Regions from separate parts of the Homo sapiens genome. Here region 1 is linked to region 2. Evidence: promoter capture Hi-C in 16 types of primary human blood cells and fetal thymus (Javierre and others, 2016). All regions are on one chromosome and are shown on one strand. The core of a region is centred on a gene start or on the middle of the fragment in contact, and the rest is flanking DNA. Distances in the headings are between cores, read along the strand shown. Region 1 overlaps PRUNE1 (prune exopolyphosphatase 1). Region 2 holds the start of SEMA6C (semaphorin 6C).

Region 1 (7,017 bases), core at 2,114-4,613, 120 kb after region 2:
TTTTTTTTTTTTTGAGACAGAGTCTTGCTCTGTCGCCCAGGCTGGAGTGCAGTGGTGCAATCTCAGTTCAGTACAACCTCTGCCTCCCCGGTTCAAGTGAATCTCCTGCCTCAGCCTCCCATGTAGCTGGGACTACAGGCATGTGTCACCCAGCCTGGCTAATGTTTGTATTTTTAGTGGAGACGGGGTTACACCATGTTAGCCAGGCTGGTCTCGAACTCCTGCCCTCAGGTCATCCGCTCTCGCCTCGGCCTCCCAAAGTGCTAGGATTACAGGTGTGAGCCACCAAGCCTGGCCCACAGTATTTTATTTTAGTATTTTGTATTTTTTATTTAATAGACTAGGGATGGGGTCTTGCTATGTTGCCCAGGCTGGTCTCCAAATCCTGGTCTCAAGCAATCCTCCTGCTTCAGCCTCCGAAAGTGCTGGGATTCATACACAGTGTTTTATTTATTTTATTTTACTTTAATTTTTTTTTTTTTGAAATGGATTCTTGCTCTGTTACCCAGGCTGGAGTACAGTGGCACGATCTTAGCTCACTGCAACCTTCGCCTCCCAGATTCAAGCAATTCTCTTGCTTCAGCCTCCTGAGTAGCTGGGATTACAGGCACCTGCCATCATGCCCAGCTAATTTTTGTATTTTTAGTAGAGACGGGGTTTCGCCATATTGGCCAGGCTGGTCTCAAACTCCTGAGCTCAGGTGATCTGCCCAGCTCAGCCTCCCAAAGTTCTGGGATTACAGGCATGAGCTACCATACCCAGCCATACACAGTATTTTAAAAACAGAGGAAACAGTTTAGATTGTATATTTCATTTTATTATTAAAGTAACTAAAGCGAAGTAAGATGGTTGTGAGTAAAATCATGCAGATGATGGCAGTTAAACCAGAACCGAGGAACCCCAGCTTCTAATCTAGTGTCGTTTCCAAGTGTATAAATGTGCTCAAGAACTTGAACTAGGATGGAACTAGAATTTATCTAGAGGCCAGAAGAGGGATGGAGGAAGAAAGAATGAATTGAACAAAATAAGACTGGTATCACTATTACCCTCACTTACATGCAGGGAAACTGAGGCTTCAATGATCAGGTAACTTGCCTAAGGTCATAATTTGCATGAAGCAAAACTGACACTGAGCCCAGAGCTGTCACCAAAGCCAGTGTTCTAAATCAATATATTATACTACCCCTAACATAGGAGAAAGAGAGGAGATGGTAGAGTAGACTGTAAGAAAAGGACTCCTGGCTGGGCATAGTGGCCCACACCTGCAATTCCAGAACTCTGGGAAGCTGAGGCTGGTGGATCACTTGAGTCCAGGAGTTCGAGACCAGCCTGGGCAACATAGCGAGACTCTGTCCCTACAAAAAATACAAAAAAAATTAGCTAGCCATGGTGGTGTGCCTGTAGCCGCAGCTACTTGGGAGGCTGGGAGGATTGCTTGAACCCGGGAGGCAGAGGTTGCAGTGAGCTGAGATAGTGCCATTGTACCACTCCAGCCTGGTCAACAGAGTGAGACATCTCAAAAAAAAAAAAAAACACACACACACACACACAAAAACAAAACAGAGAGAGAAGGACTCCTGTTTCCAAGCATAGGGGCAACCTAGACAATGGTAGAGTCATTAGAAATCCACACAGCTTTAAAAGAGCAGCACAGAGGGGAGAAGATTCAGGAACGTGGAAGAGGTACTTCTAATGGCCAAAGCACCCTTTTCTTACTGACAGGATTAGTAAGAGCCACTATTTACAAAGTGCTTACTCTGCTCCAGGAGTGTGCTTTACACATGATATTACGTTTAATGATCATAGCAGAATTAGCAGTAGGTACTATTATGCCATTTCCAGATGCAGAAGTCAACTGACTTGCCTTAGCTCAAAGAGTGAGTAAGAGGCAAACCTAGAACAGAAAAGCACATCTACCTGACTTTAAAAACTGCAGTTCTTGGCCAGGTGCAGTGGCTCAGGCTTGTAATTCCAGCACTTCGGAAGGCCAAGGCAGGTGGATCACTTGAGGTCAGGAGTTCGAGACCTGCCTGGCTAACATGGTGAAACCCCATCTCTACTAAAAATACAAAAATTAGTCAGGCATGGTGGCAGGCGCCTGTAGTCCCAGCTACAGGCTGAGGTGGGAGAACTGACTGAACCTGGGAGGTGGCGGTTGCAGTGAGCCAAGATCACACCACTGTACTCAAGCCTGGGCGACAGAGTGAGACTCCATCTTAAAAAACAAACAAACAGACAAAACTGCAGTTCTTTTCATAATGACGAACTACCTTACACTGAATGAAATCAGATTTGCTTCCTGGGGAGAAGGCAAAGGCAAAGGGGGGCGGGAAAGGACAGACATACCTTCTATGAGAGCAAAGGATTATCTGGCTGTATTCTGTCTTTAGCAGTCCTCACAGAGCCTAGGCAACCCTCAGAATCCCTGAACTGCCTTAAGCCCACCTTTTTTTTTTTTTTTTTTGGAGACGGAGTCTTGCTCTGTTGGCAGGATGGAGTACAGTGGCGCAATCTCGGCTCACTGCAACCTCTGCTTGCCGAGGTTCAAGAGATTCTCCTGCCTCAGCCTCCTGAGTAGCTGGGACTATAGGCACGCACCACCACGCCCAGCTAATTTCCGTATTTTTAAAAGAGATGGGGTTTCACCATGTTGGCCAGGATGGTCTTGATCTCTTGCTCTCGTGATCTGCCCGCCTCAGCTTCCCAAAGTGCTGGGATTACAGGTGTGAGCCACCGCACCCAGCCTTAAGCCCACTTTTAAATTCTTCCCTAGGCTAATCAGTAACCAGCAGAGGAACAGAAGGGGGAGGAAGTAGGAAAGATAGCCAAATCTGGATCTAGATCACTTCTTTACAGAGTTTGCACTATACAGAATAATTAATCCCTGCATAGTAAGTAGCAGAAAAGGTCTCTCGTATTTCTAATTTTCAAGGCAACAGCATAATTCCAGGGGTGAGGAATTAATGATTAAACCAAGAATAGAGTTTTTGTTTTTTTTTTTCCCCAACAGAGATGAGGTCTTGCTATCTTTGCCCAGGCTGGACTCAAACTTTCCAGCTCGGCTGGGCGCGGTGGCTCACGCCTGTAATCCCAGCACTTTGGGAGGCCAAGGCGGGCGGATCACGAGGTCAGGAGATCGAGACTATCCTGGCTAACACGGTGAAACCCCGTCTCTACTAAAAATACAAAAAATTAGCCGGGCGTGGTGGCGGGCGCCTGTAGTCCCAGCTACTCGGGAGGCTGAGGCAGGACAATGGCGTTAACCCAGGAGGCAGAGCTTGCAGTGAGCCGAGATTGTGCCACTGCACCCCAGCCTGGGCAACAGCACAAGACTGTCTCAAAAAAAAAAAAAAAAAAAAAACTTTCCAGCTTAAGCAATCCTTCTGCATCAGCCTCCCGAGTTGCTGGGACTACAGGCACGTGCCACTGTCCCTAGCTCAAGAAGGGAATTTTAACTCCGGATTTATAACATTTCCTTCTAACTAGATTTCGTTCTTTCAAAGTAGGAATTGAATCTCTAGTTCTCTTTGGAATTCCCCCTTTCTCAACAATGCTATGATTAAGGATGTTCATTAAAAAAAAAAAAAGGATATTCATATAGAGAGAGAATGGGAAAAAGCAGAAAGGGGAGGAAACAGGTCCAGAAACAGGTCAAGGGACCTCATGTAAGTACATTAATATAAGAACCTAAGAGAGGTCCTTATAGGACAGCTGTAGAGCACAGAGGTACATACAGGCAGACTCTGTAAGGCTCTTAGGTTGGAGAAGGGACACAGACTCACCGTTGTTTGGAGTGCCACATGGGGACAGAAAATAGCCAACTGCCGCACTGGCTCATTGTGAGTGTTGAAAAAGATAGTCATGGCAACCAGGACATCATAGCTGTGAGCCTGGCAGAAAGCATGGAGATCTGCAAGGAGGTTAGACCTCTGCAGAAAGGCCTGAAAGGGAAGAAACGGAGAGGGATGAAGGACTTTCTCATCATCATCAATAAAACATCCTTGGGCCGGGCACGGTCGCTTACGCCTATAATCCTAGCACTTTGGGAGGCCGAGGCAGGTGATCACTTGAGGTCAGGAGTTCGAGACCAGCCTAGCCAACATGGTGAAACCCTGTCTCTGGTAAAAATACAAAAATTAGCCGGGCATGGGGGCATATGCCTGTAATCCCAGCTACTCAGGAGGCTGAGGCAGGAGAATCGCTTGAACCAGGGAGGCGGAAGTTGCAGTGAGCTGAGATTGCGCCATTGCACTCCAGCCTGGGGGACAAGAGCGAAACTCCGTCTCAAAAAACAAAAACAAAACAAAACAAAACAAAAAATTAGCTGGGCATGCCGGCACGCACCAGTAATCCCAGCTACTAGGGAGGCTGAGGCAGGAGAATTACTTGAACCCGGGAGGCAGAGGTTGCAGTGAGCTGAGATCATGCCATTCCACTCCATCCTGGGCAACAGAATAAGACTCAGGCTCAAAACAAACAAACAAACAAACATACATACATAACTGCTAGAGGTTTTTTGAGCATAGGAGATAGTACTTCAGTTAGGGTGGTCAGGAAAAACCTCCCAAAACAAGAGACATCTGAGCTGAGTACCTGAATGTTAAGAAGGAGCCAGCTTTACAAAGAAAAAAGCTCAGCTGGGAATGAGCTTAATGGTTCTGAGGAACAGAAAAGAAACCAGTGTGGCTGCAGTACTGTAGAACAGGAGTGGAGCTGGAATGAGATGAGGCCAGAGAAAAAGACAAGGGCCAGATCAAGCATGGCGCTGTAAACCACAGTAAGTCCTTTAGATTTTATTAAAAATACAATGAGGCCGGGCACAGTGGCTCACGCCTATAATCCCAGAACTTCGGAGGCCAAAAGGAGAACTGCTTGAGGCCAGGAGTTTGAGACCAGCCTGGGCAACATAGTGAGACCCCATCGACACATACATACACGCGCGCGCACACACACACACACACACACACACACACACACACTAGTTAGGTGTGGTGGTGTGCACCTGTGGACCCAGCTACTCGAGAGGCTAAGGTGGGAGGATTGCTTGAGCCTGGAAGGTTGAGGCTGCAGTGAGCCATGATGGTACCACTGTACTCTAGCCTGGCAACAAAGCATGACTCCCTTAAAAAAAAAAAAAAAAAATTAAAAAAGACCACTCTGGCTGCTGCGGGGAGAATGGTTTGTAGGGCTGCAAAAGCAGAGGCAGGGACACCAGTACTGAGGCTAATACAGCGGTGCAGTGAGAGATGCTGGACTCTGGTGGTCACAGTGGAGGTAGAGACAAAGATAGACACAAGATACATTTTGGAGGTGAGCCAGGAATGAGGTGCAAGGCCACATGCATAACATGCATAGCTAAAGGCTTTCTCTCCCCACCCACAGCCACAACTTGCTCTTACCTCCAAATCCATATATATTGCACTAATGGCCACCTTGACGCCTTGTCTATAGATAGTCTTCTGGTCTTTTCTCAGCATCTGCTCAGTGGTCAGTCCTAGAAAGCAGATGAGAGACTAGGGGTCAAACAGGGTAGGCCAGGGTCCCAAGACCAAGAAGGCAAGGACAGCCAGATGGGTCAAGGAAGGAAAAACAGCCTCTCTTTGGGGCAATGAATGGGGGAGATAATTGAAAATGTAATCATAGCCGGGCGCGGTGACTCAGGCCTGTAATCCCAGCACTTTGGGAGGCTGAGGTGGGCGGATCACCTGAGGTCAGGAGTTTGGGACCAGCCTGGTCAACATGATGAAACTCTGTCTCTACTAAAAATACAAAGAATTAGCTGGGTGTGGTGGCGGGCACTTGTAATCCCAGCTACTCAGGAGGCTGAAGCAGGAGAATCACTTGAACCTGGACTCTGTCTCAAAAAAAAAAAAAAAAAAGAAAGAAAGAAAATGTAATCACATAATCAAAAGCCATCTTAAATAACTGGTGACAATAGGTACCTTTAGAGCAAGTAACTTTGGAGAGAAGGATGAAACCCAGAACAGAGGCTTTTACTTTTTATCTTTCCCTCTTCCTATACTGTTTACATGTGAGTTCTTTCTTTCTTTCTTCCTTTTTATGTCAACAGGTGGTAGCTGAGTACAAGAATACAGTTTTTTTTGGGTTCTCTTCATCTTTTGTTTACTCACAAAATATTTCTTTTGCCTCCCTAACCAATTCTATAGATTTCACTCTGATAATTTAGTATACTCTCAGCATATTTTATATATATGTCCTGTATTCTCTGAATAGACTGGAACCTATGAGGCTCTTTTTGTTTTTTTTTGAGACGGAGTTTCGCTGTCGTTGCCCAAGCTGGAGTACAATGGCGCAATCTCGGCTCACTGCAACCTCCACTTCCCGGGTTCAAGCGATTTTCCTGCCTCAGCCTCCTGAGTAGATGGGATTACAGGCACACACCACCACGCTCAGCTAATTTTTCGTATTTTTAGTAGAAACGGAGTTTCACCATGTTAGCTAGGCTGGTCTTGAACTCCTGACCTCAGGTGATCTGCCCACCTCGGCCTCCCAAAGTGTTGGGATTACAGGCGTGAGCCACTGCGTCTGGCCCTTCTGAGGCTCTTAATACATTCCTCCTCATCCTAACCAAGAGCCAGGATAGAACAATCCAGTAAATGACTGATTATTTCATGCTTAGGCTAATATGGTACTTCATTTCTTTCTGGTATAAAATTTAAATAATTGGCCAGGCGCGGTGGCTCATGCCTGTAATCCCAGCACTTTGGGAGGCCCAGGCGGGCAGATCACCTGAGCTTCAGAGTTCAAGACCAGCCTGGTCAACATGGTGAAACCCGATCTTTACTAAAAATACCAAAATTAGCTGGGCGTGGTGGTGGGCGCCTGTAATCCCAGCTACTCGGGAGGCTGAGGCAGGAGAATCGCTTGAACCCAGGAGGTCGAGGTTGCAGTGTGCCAAGATTGTGCCACTGCACTCTAGCCTGGGTGGCAGAGCAAGACTCTGTCTCAAAAAAAAAAAAATAATATAATGAACAAGGCTTGCCTTTCTGTTTTCTT
Region 2 (7,500 bases), core at 4,948-7,447:
CTCATATCAGTTCAGAAAGAGTAAGTTTAGTGTGATTTAAAGCAGTCAAGTAAGTCAGCCTGACATAGCTGGAGATAGTTCACAGCTTTTACTCTTTTTTTGTTTGGGGTATTTATTTATTTATTTATGAGATCGAGTCTCACACTGTCGCCCAGGCTGGAGTGCAGTGGCATGATCTCGGCTCACTGCAACCTCTGCCTCCTGGGTTCAAGTGATTCTCCTGCCTCAGCCTCCCAAGTAGCTGGGATTACAGGCGCGCACCCCCACGCCCGGCTAATTTTTGTATTTTTAGTAGAGACGGGGTTTCACTATGTTGGCCAGGCTGGTCTTGAACTCCTGACCTCATGATTCGCCCAGCTCGGCCTCCCGAAGTGCTGGGATTACAGGTGTGAACCACCGTGCCTGTCCTATTTTTATTTATTTACTTTTTTGAGATGGAGTCTCACTCTGTCGCCCAGGCTGGAGTGCAGTGGCACGATCTCGGCTCACTGCAACCTCTGCCTCCCAGGTTCAAGCTATTCTCCTGCCTCAGCCTCCTGAGTAGCTGGGATTACAGGCGCGCGCTACCACGCCCAGCTAATTTTTTGTATTTTTAATCGACACGGGGTTTCACCATGTTAGCCAGGATGGTCTCGATCTCCTGACCTCATGATTCGCCTGCCTTGGCCTCCCAAAATGCTGGGATTACAGAAATGAGCCACCATACCTGGCTTGTTTTTTTTTTGTTTTTGTTTTTTGTTGTTGTTGTTGTTTTTCCTCTGAGCCATAGGATGTTTGTTTGTTTTTAATCTTTGATGCATTTATTTCTTCCTCTACTTACTGTATGCCAGGCATTACAATTAAGTGCTGGGGATAAAAAGATAAAAGACAAGCTTCCTGTCTTTTTTTTTTTTTTTTTAAGATGGAGTTTCGCTCTTGTTGCTCAGGCCAGAGTGCAATGGCGCGATCTTGCCTCATGGCAACCTCCACCTCCCGGGTTCAAGTGATTCTCCTGCCTCAGCCTCCTGAGTAGCTGGGACTACAGGCGCCCGCCACCATGCCCGGCTAATTTTGTATTTTTAGTAGAGACGGGGTTTCTCTATGTCGGTCAGGCTGGTCTTGAACTCCCAACCTTAGGTGATCTGCCCACCTTAGCCTCCCAAAGTGCTGGGATTATAGGTGTGAGCCACTGCGCCTGGCTACTTCCTGTCTTTAGACTAAGTGGTAAACATGAAAAATCCAAATGGAAGTATCCAATAAGCAATTGTATACATGAGTCTAGAACTCAGGAGAAAGACCTGAGTTGAACACCTAGATTTTATGGTAAGCAACATATAAACAGTTTATTGTGGCCGGGCGCAGTGGCTCACACCTGTAATCCCAGCACTTTGGGAGGCCCAGGCGGGCGGATCATGAGGTCAGAAGATCGAGACCATCCTGGCTAACACGGTGAAACCCTGTGTCTACTGAAAATACAAAAAAAAAAAAAAAATTAGCTGGGCATGGTGGCAGGTGCCTGTAGTCCCAGCTACTCTGGAGGCTGAGGCAGGAGAATGGTGTGAACCCGGGAGGCGGAACTTGCAGTGAGCCGAGTGAGCCACTGCACTCTAGCCTAGGTGACAGAGGGAGACTCATCTCAAAACAAAACAAAACAAAACAGTTTATTGTAACTGTTGGTTTTGTAACTGTTCTCATTGTCGGATTATCTTGACCAATGAGAATGGGTAGAGAAGAAAGAGGTGGCTAAGGACATGACCATAGGGAACACCAGCATTTAGAGAGGTCAGAGAAGGCTAAGAAAGGTCATATTAGGCTGGGTGTGGTGGCTCACACCTGTAATCCCAACACTTTGGAGGCTGAGGTGGGCAGATCGCTTGAGGTCAGGAGTTCGAGACCAGCCTGGCCAACATGGCGAAACCCTGTCTCTACTAAAAATATAAAAATTAGCTGGGCGTGGTGGTGGGCGCCTGTAATCCCAGCTACTCGGGAGGCTGAGATGGAGAAGCGCTTGAACCCAGGAGGTGGAGGTTGCAGTGAGTGAGCCAAGATTATGCTACTGCACTCCAGCCTGGGGCGACAGAGTGAGTCTCTGTCTCAAAAAAAAAAAAAAAAGAAAAGAAAAGAAAAGAAAAGCCATATTAATAGAAGTGAAACTATCCATTCATTAAAAATACATATTTATTAAGCCCCTAGTCTTTGTTAAGAGAAAGAGGGACCTCAGGAGCCAAAAGAAGAAAGCATTTCAAGGAGGGGGGAGTCAACAGGTCAAATGGCACAGAGAGGGCAAAAGGATAAAGACTGAAGAGTTGTTCATTGAATGTGACCAGGAGGTCGTTGGTGGCCTTAATGAGAGCAATCTCAGTGGACTGATGGGGACAAAAACTAAAATGATTGAGAATGAGAATCATGAAAATGGATATAGCAAGTATAGGTAACTCTAGAAGCTTAGTTATGAAGGGAAGAGAAATCGAGTGATGACTGGGTGCAGACAAGGATCAAGAGAAAGTTTGGAATGTTTTCCTTTTAATCATGGGAATTACTTGAGCATGTGTATATGCTAAGGGGAAAATATCAGTAGAAAAGGACAGGTTAAGACTGGGAATGGTGGCTGACGCCGGTAATCCCAGCAGTTCGAGAGGCCGAGGCAGGAGAATCACTTGAGCCTAGGAGTTCAAGACCAGCCTGGGCAACACAATGAGACTCTGCCTCTATTTTTTTTTTAAGTTAATACTTTCTGTGTGCAGGCACTATGCTACAAGGAAAGGATACAGTGTTGAGCAAGATAGACAACCAGGGACTGCATACAACTTACAGTAAAGTCATAGGTGAACCTTCGACAGGTGATACGGATGGCATTCACTAGGATGAGAGAGACATGATGCAGGTAAGTATATCTGTAGGGAGCAAAAAGTTGGTGGAATTCTCACTTTATTATCTCTGTTTTCTCTGAAGACGGATGAGGGTTTTCCTGAGATGAACAAGGAAATGGTAAGGAAAGGAACTTGCAAAAAAAGGAGGAAGTTTGAAATATCTCCCTGGGGATTGGAAGAGAGTGCTTTTCCAATCCAATCTGTGGGACTGTGTGATTTCCTTTTTTTGAGATGGAGTCTCGCTCTGTTGCCCAGGCTGGAGTGCAGTGGTGCGATCTCGGCTCACTGCAAGCTCCGCCTCCTGGGTTCAAGCAATTCTCCTGCCTCAGCCTCCCCAGTAGTTGGGACTACAGGCGCACACCGCCACGCCCGGCTAATTCTTTTTATTTTAGTAGAGACGGGGTTTCACTGTTGTTGCCCAGGCTGGTCTCGAACTCCTGAGCTCAGGCAATCCACCCGCCTCAGCCTCCCAAAGTGCTAGGATTACAGGCCTGAGTCACTGCGCCCGGCCAGGACTGTGTGATTTTCTTCAAAACACTAAGGGAGTAGGAAGAGAGGTTTTTTATTTTTATTTTTATTTTTTTAAGAGTCTCCCTCTGTGTCACCCAGGCTGGAGTGCAGTGGCACGATCTTGGCTCACTGCAATCTCCTGTCACCTGAGTTCAAGCAATTCCCCTGCCTCAGCCTCCTGAGTAGCTGGGATTGCAGGTGCCCATCACCACACCCGGCTAATTTTTTTTTGTATTTTTAGCAGAGCTGGAGTTTCTCCATGTTGGCCAGGCTGGTCTCAGAACTCCTGACCTCAGGTGATCTGCCCACTTCGGCCTCCCAAAGTGCTGGGATTACAGGGGTGAGCCACCTCGCCCAGCCAAGAGAGTCATTTTGATTTGTCCTTCAAAATAGCTCTCAGATTCATGTATTTCTTTCTAAATCTGTTCCCATCACCCTTGTCTGATTGTCCCTCTCCCCTCACCTTTAAACCTTGTTTACTTGCTAGTAGGTCTCTGTCTTCTTGCTTAAAAAAATAAAAAAATACAAGTTGCACCCTTTTTCAAGAATTTAAAATGACGTCCTACTCCTGTCAGATGATTTTAACCAGCTCACCTAGTCATTCCAGGCCTTCTGTAATTTGTCTTCCCCTTTTCCCTCCCCTTGCTCCTAACTAGTGCCTTTCCCACACACCAGCCTCACAGGACCTTTTTTTTATCCATGCTGCAGGCTCCTTGCTAACCAAGTAAAAGCTTTTGCTGAAGCTGTGTCCCTCGGGAACATTTTCTTCTTTTGCACCAAGCCAACTCCCACCAAAGTTTTCCTGTCCTTCATGATAAAATGTATCCAGCATCTTTCTGTGCAGTCTTCGGAGAATATTTATTGTCTTCTTTGCACATTTGGAAATTTATGTTCAATGTAGCTTTTCTTTTGAGACTTGGTGTTGTCTTTTTAATAGTTTAGTACTATTAAATATTTAATATTTAGTACTGTCTTTTTAATAGTTTAGACTTTTTAATAGTTTAGTATGTGCAAATCTTATTTTAATTCAAATATATTATCATTTTCTTAAAGTCTGGAACCACAACCCACAGTGGATTGTGTAGTAGATTGTGTCTCAAGTAAGTGTTTAATACTTACTGGATTGAACTGAGATTTGAGCTGGGTCCTAAAACTTTAAATGAATTACACCTTAATCCCCACTCACTAATCTATTCCATAAGCATGTATCTGAGTACCTAAACCCTGTGCTAGGAGCTGAGGAGATTTCTTTTAACCTCTCAGTGCCTCTGTATTTTGAGGTGTCTTTCTCTGAAAATTTCTTTCCAGCCTTTAAAACAACCCCAACTGTCTGACAGTTTGTTGAATTGCCTTGGACCCAAGATCCCTCGGCCGTTAATTCTGTGTAGATATTGTCCCTGTTTATCTTCTTCTATTTTTTTTAGATCTGACTTTACTGAGTTACTGTTCATCTTACTGGTTCACCTGGCCTTAAATCTGTCTCTCTGTCTCTCTCTTTCTCTGTATGTGCGTGTGCACATGTGTGTGTATGTTTAGGTCTCTTGTGTACTCGCTGTGGGGCTTAGCCTAGTTGTTGATACTCCCCTCCCTGATCACAGTCCAGTTAAGGCTGGCCTAAAGTGGCAAACCCCTTCCCCCTCCTTTCCTCTAGTCCAGAGTCCAAGATGTGGGTAGAAGTGTTCAGTCAGATAAAACTATCTGAGAATGCCAGTGTCTCCCAGGCCACCCACTTTCCTGGAGAATTTTGAGAATGTCTTTTGTCCCAGCCCCACATAGAGAAGAATCCTACCAGGCAATACCAAGGTACCAAGCAATCCTGTCTGTAGTAGTTTATTCTTCCTCCTCACTGACATTCCCAGGGGCTTTATGAAGGGTGGGGAGGGAGAAGGGGCAGTTTTGCTGTTTGGAGGGATGTCACGGTCCTCTGAGGAAAGGTGGGACGTATGTCTGTGGGGCAGGAAGGCTGTGTGGGTTACTTTATCAAGTCTTAGCGTTGCTACTCTTTGTGCCTTTCTCTGAGTCAGTTAGTCTTGATTTCCACATCTGTTTTGGCTTCAGCCTCTCTCACCTGCCCTCTTCCATTACCCAACAGCCTGACTGCTAGCTAGTTCTTGCCATAGTGGCCCAAACTCATGCTGCTTTGTAGAGGTGGGAGGGGAGGAGATCATGGAAACAAGGGAAACCTCCTGCTGACACCTTCCTTTCCTTTCCCAGGCCTCCAGCCCCCACGCGCATGCTAGGCCTCCTTATCCGGGTCAGGACGAACCAGAGGAGGCCTACGGGGAGAAATAAGGAGACAGAGGGACAACGCATAGAGAGGAGCAACAGAGAGTTGGGGGCAGAGTCAGGGAGATGCGGGATGCGCCCTCGGGAGCAAGGTCGCCCAAGCCGTATAGGAGGGGAAGGGAGGACGGATCGCGCAGGCTCTGACAGCCCAGCCCAGCCCCGCGAGGCTCCCAGGTTTCCTGTCTGTTTCTCCTCCCAGCTCCTCTTCCTCTCTTGGGAAATTTCTCCCCAGAGCCTCTCCTGTGCCAGCCTGTCTCTGCTTCTGTATGTATTTCTTCCTCTGCCCGGTGTCGGCGACTGTCCGTGGGTCTCTCCATCTCGCGTCTGTCTCTGGTCTCCAGTTCAGCCTCCCGGCCTGGCCCTCTGGGTGGACGGTGCTCCTGGCGCCCCTCCCCGGGCAGCACTATTGGCGGAGAGGTGACGAGAAGGCGGTGTCTAGCCGCCCTCCGAGGGCGGGATTAGTCGCGGCGACCCAAAGGCGGGCAGGAGGTGGGCCCGGCTGGGAGGCGGGCGGGGCCACTGGGGCCGAGCCCAGAGCCCCGGGCGGTCGCATTGTTTTCCTCCGCGGATCCGCGGCTGGACTTGGACCCAGGGCTCTCCCGACAGCGCCCTGGAACCCAAATTCAAGCACCATCCAATTCGGACGCTCATCGCATCTCGCCTGAGCACAACCACGGATTGCGAACTCAGCGCAGCGCGTGGCCGCTGGCCGCCCGCGGCGATCTCGATCCCGCTGACCCGAATCCTGGAGCAAGTACCCCGGGCAGGGAAGGGGCTGCGGGGAGGCGGGGAGGGAGCAGGAGGGCGCGGCCGGCGGGGGGCAAGCTTCTGAAGCGCTAGGGGACCAGGGAGGTGTCGGCGCCCGGTGTGCCTGGCTGACGGAGAGGGTCAACGAAATTGGGGTGCAGGGAGGAAGGAGGGACAGTGGCCGAGCCCCGTAACTGTACTGGTGAGAGCAGAGTCTGGGCACCTCGTTCAATTGGGCTTTCGTCGAGTCGCATCCCGCTGGACTGGGAAGCGCGAAAAGGGATTATTTGAGGCGCGCTCCGTAGAGAGCGTGGAAAACCTGGCCCCTTGCTTTCCCAGCAAGGAAACTAGGGCTCCGAGACCCACGGAGAACTAGACCCTCCTGACGCCCCTGAAGGGATGGGAAGAGGGACGCATCGTTCCGGACTTTGTGTCACGGGTGCTCCTCTGTCCTTGTGCAAGCCGGAATCTGAGCACCCTCTGAAGGGTTGGCTCGTGCAAAGAGGCGGCGAATGGGGCCCTCGAGCAACATCGGTCCCAGCGCCTATCTCCTTCCTTCAGCCCGCTCGGCCCGGGGCTTTGTTAGACTGAGGTCTCCCAAGGAGGACATCCGAGCTGGCAACTGCCTCCTGAGCCCACGGTCCCCACTGAGCGCCGGCCTCAGGCCCGCCCTCGTCGGTTCTCAGCCTCTGGCCCTGTTTCCCTGGCCTGGGAGACCCGCCTCCGCTCCCCAACCCCCGCTCCTATCCCCTCTTCGTCTGCGCCTGCAGGCCCCTCCAGCCCCTCCTCTCGCTAACGTGGCTCTGGGACCCGGTCCCGGCCCAGACTCTGCTACCGGCCCCTCCTCGGAGCCCCGGATCCGGTGAGGGGGAGACAGGTCGAGCCCCTGGCCCTAGGCCCACCTCTTTTCGAGGCTTTAGACACCTGGATTGTCCTGGTTGGGGGTTGGGTGGGAAGGAGGGTAGGTGCTGAGTGTGGGGCTAAGAGCTAAGAGTGGGGGAAATGGCTTGGAGAAAGGAAAGCTCCGGTTCCACAGGCTCCTTGGCGCGACCCTGCTCCCTCTGAGGAAGGTGGACTGGGGCGGGCGACCAGCCCAAAGGCTTCCTGC

What was found. The method cuts DNA at HindIII sites, captures the fragments that hold promoters and counts their contacts. A CHiCAGO score of 5 or more calls a contact.
Region 1: a fragment that was not itself captured here is called in contact with the fragment with the promoter of SEMA6C in region 2 in 4 of 17 cell types (naive CD4 T cells, total CD4 T cells, total CD8 T cells and 1 more); the score reaches 6.0 in naive CD4 T cells.

Annotation. Positions count from the first base shown.
Region 1 is chr1:151,025,710-151,032,726 of GRCh38, reverse strand. It overlaps PRUNE1 (prune exopolyphosphatase 1), which reads right to left. Exons shown (of 8, transcript NM_021222.3): 6 at 5,400-5,494; 7 at 3,783-3,941. Among named protein-coding and RNA genes, the nearest start is that of BNIPL, 7.4 kb to the left of the region's middle. The HindIII fragment of the contact is 8,691 bases long and covers 1-7,017 here.
Region 2 is chr1:151,145,328-151,152,827 of GRCh38, reverse strand. SEMA6C (semaphorin 6C) reads left to right here and starts at 6,197. Exons shown (of 19, transcript NM_030913.6): 1 at 6,197-6,395. It also overlaps a transcript of LYSMD1 not described here. RefSeq lists silencers at 5,720-5,779, 5,990-6,449. The HindIII fragment of the contact is 2,380 bases long and covers 4,093-6,472 here.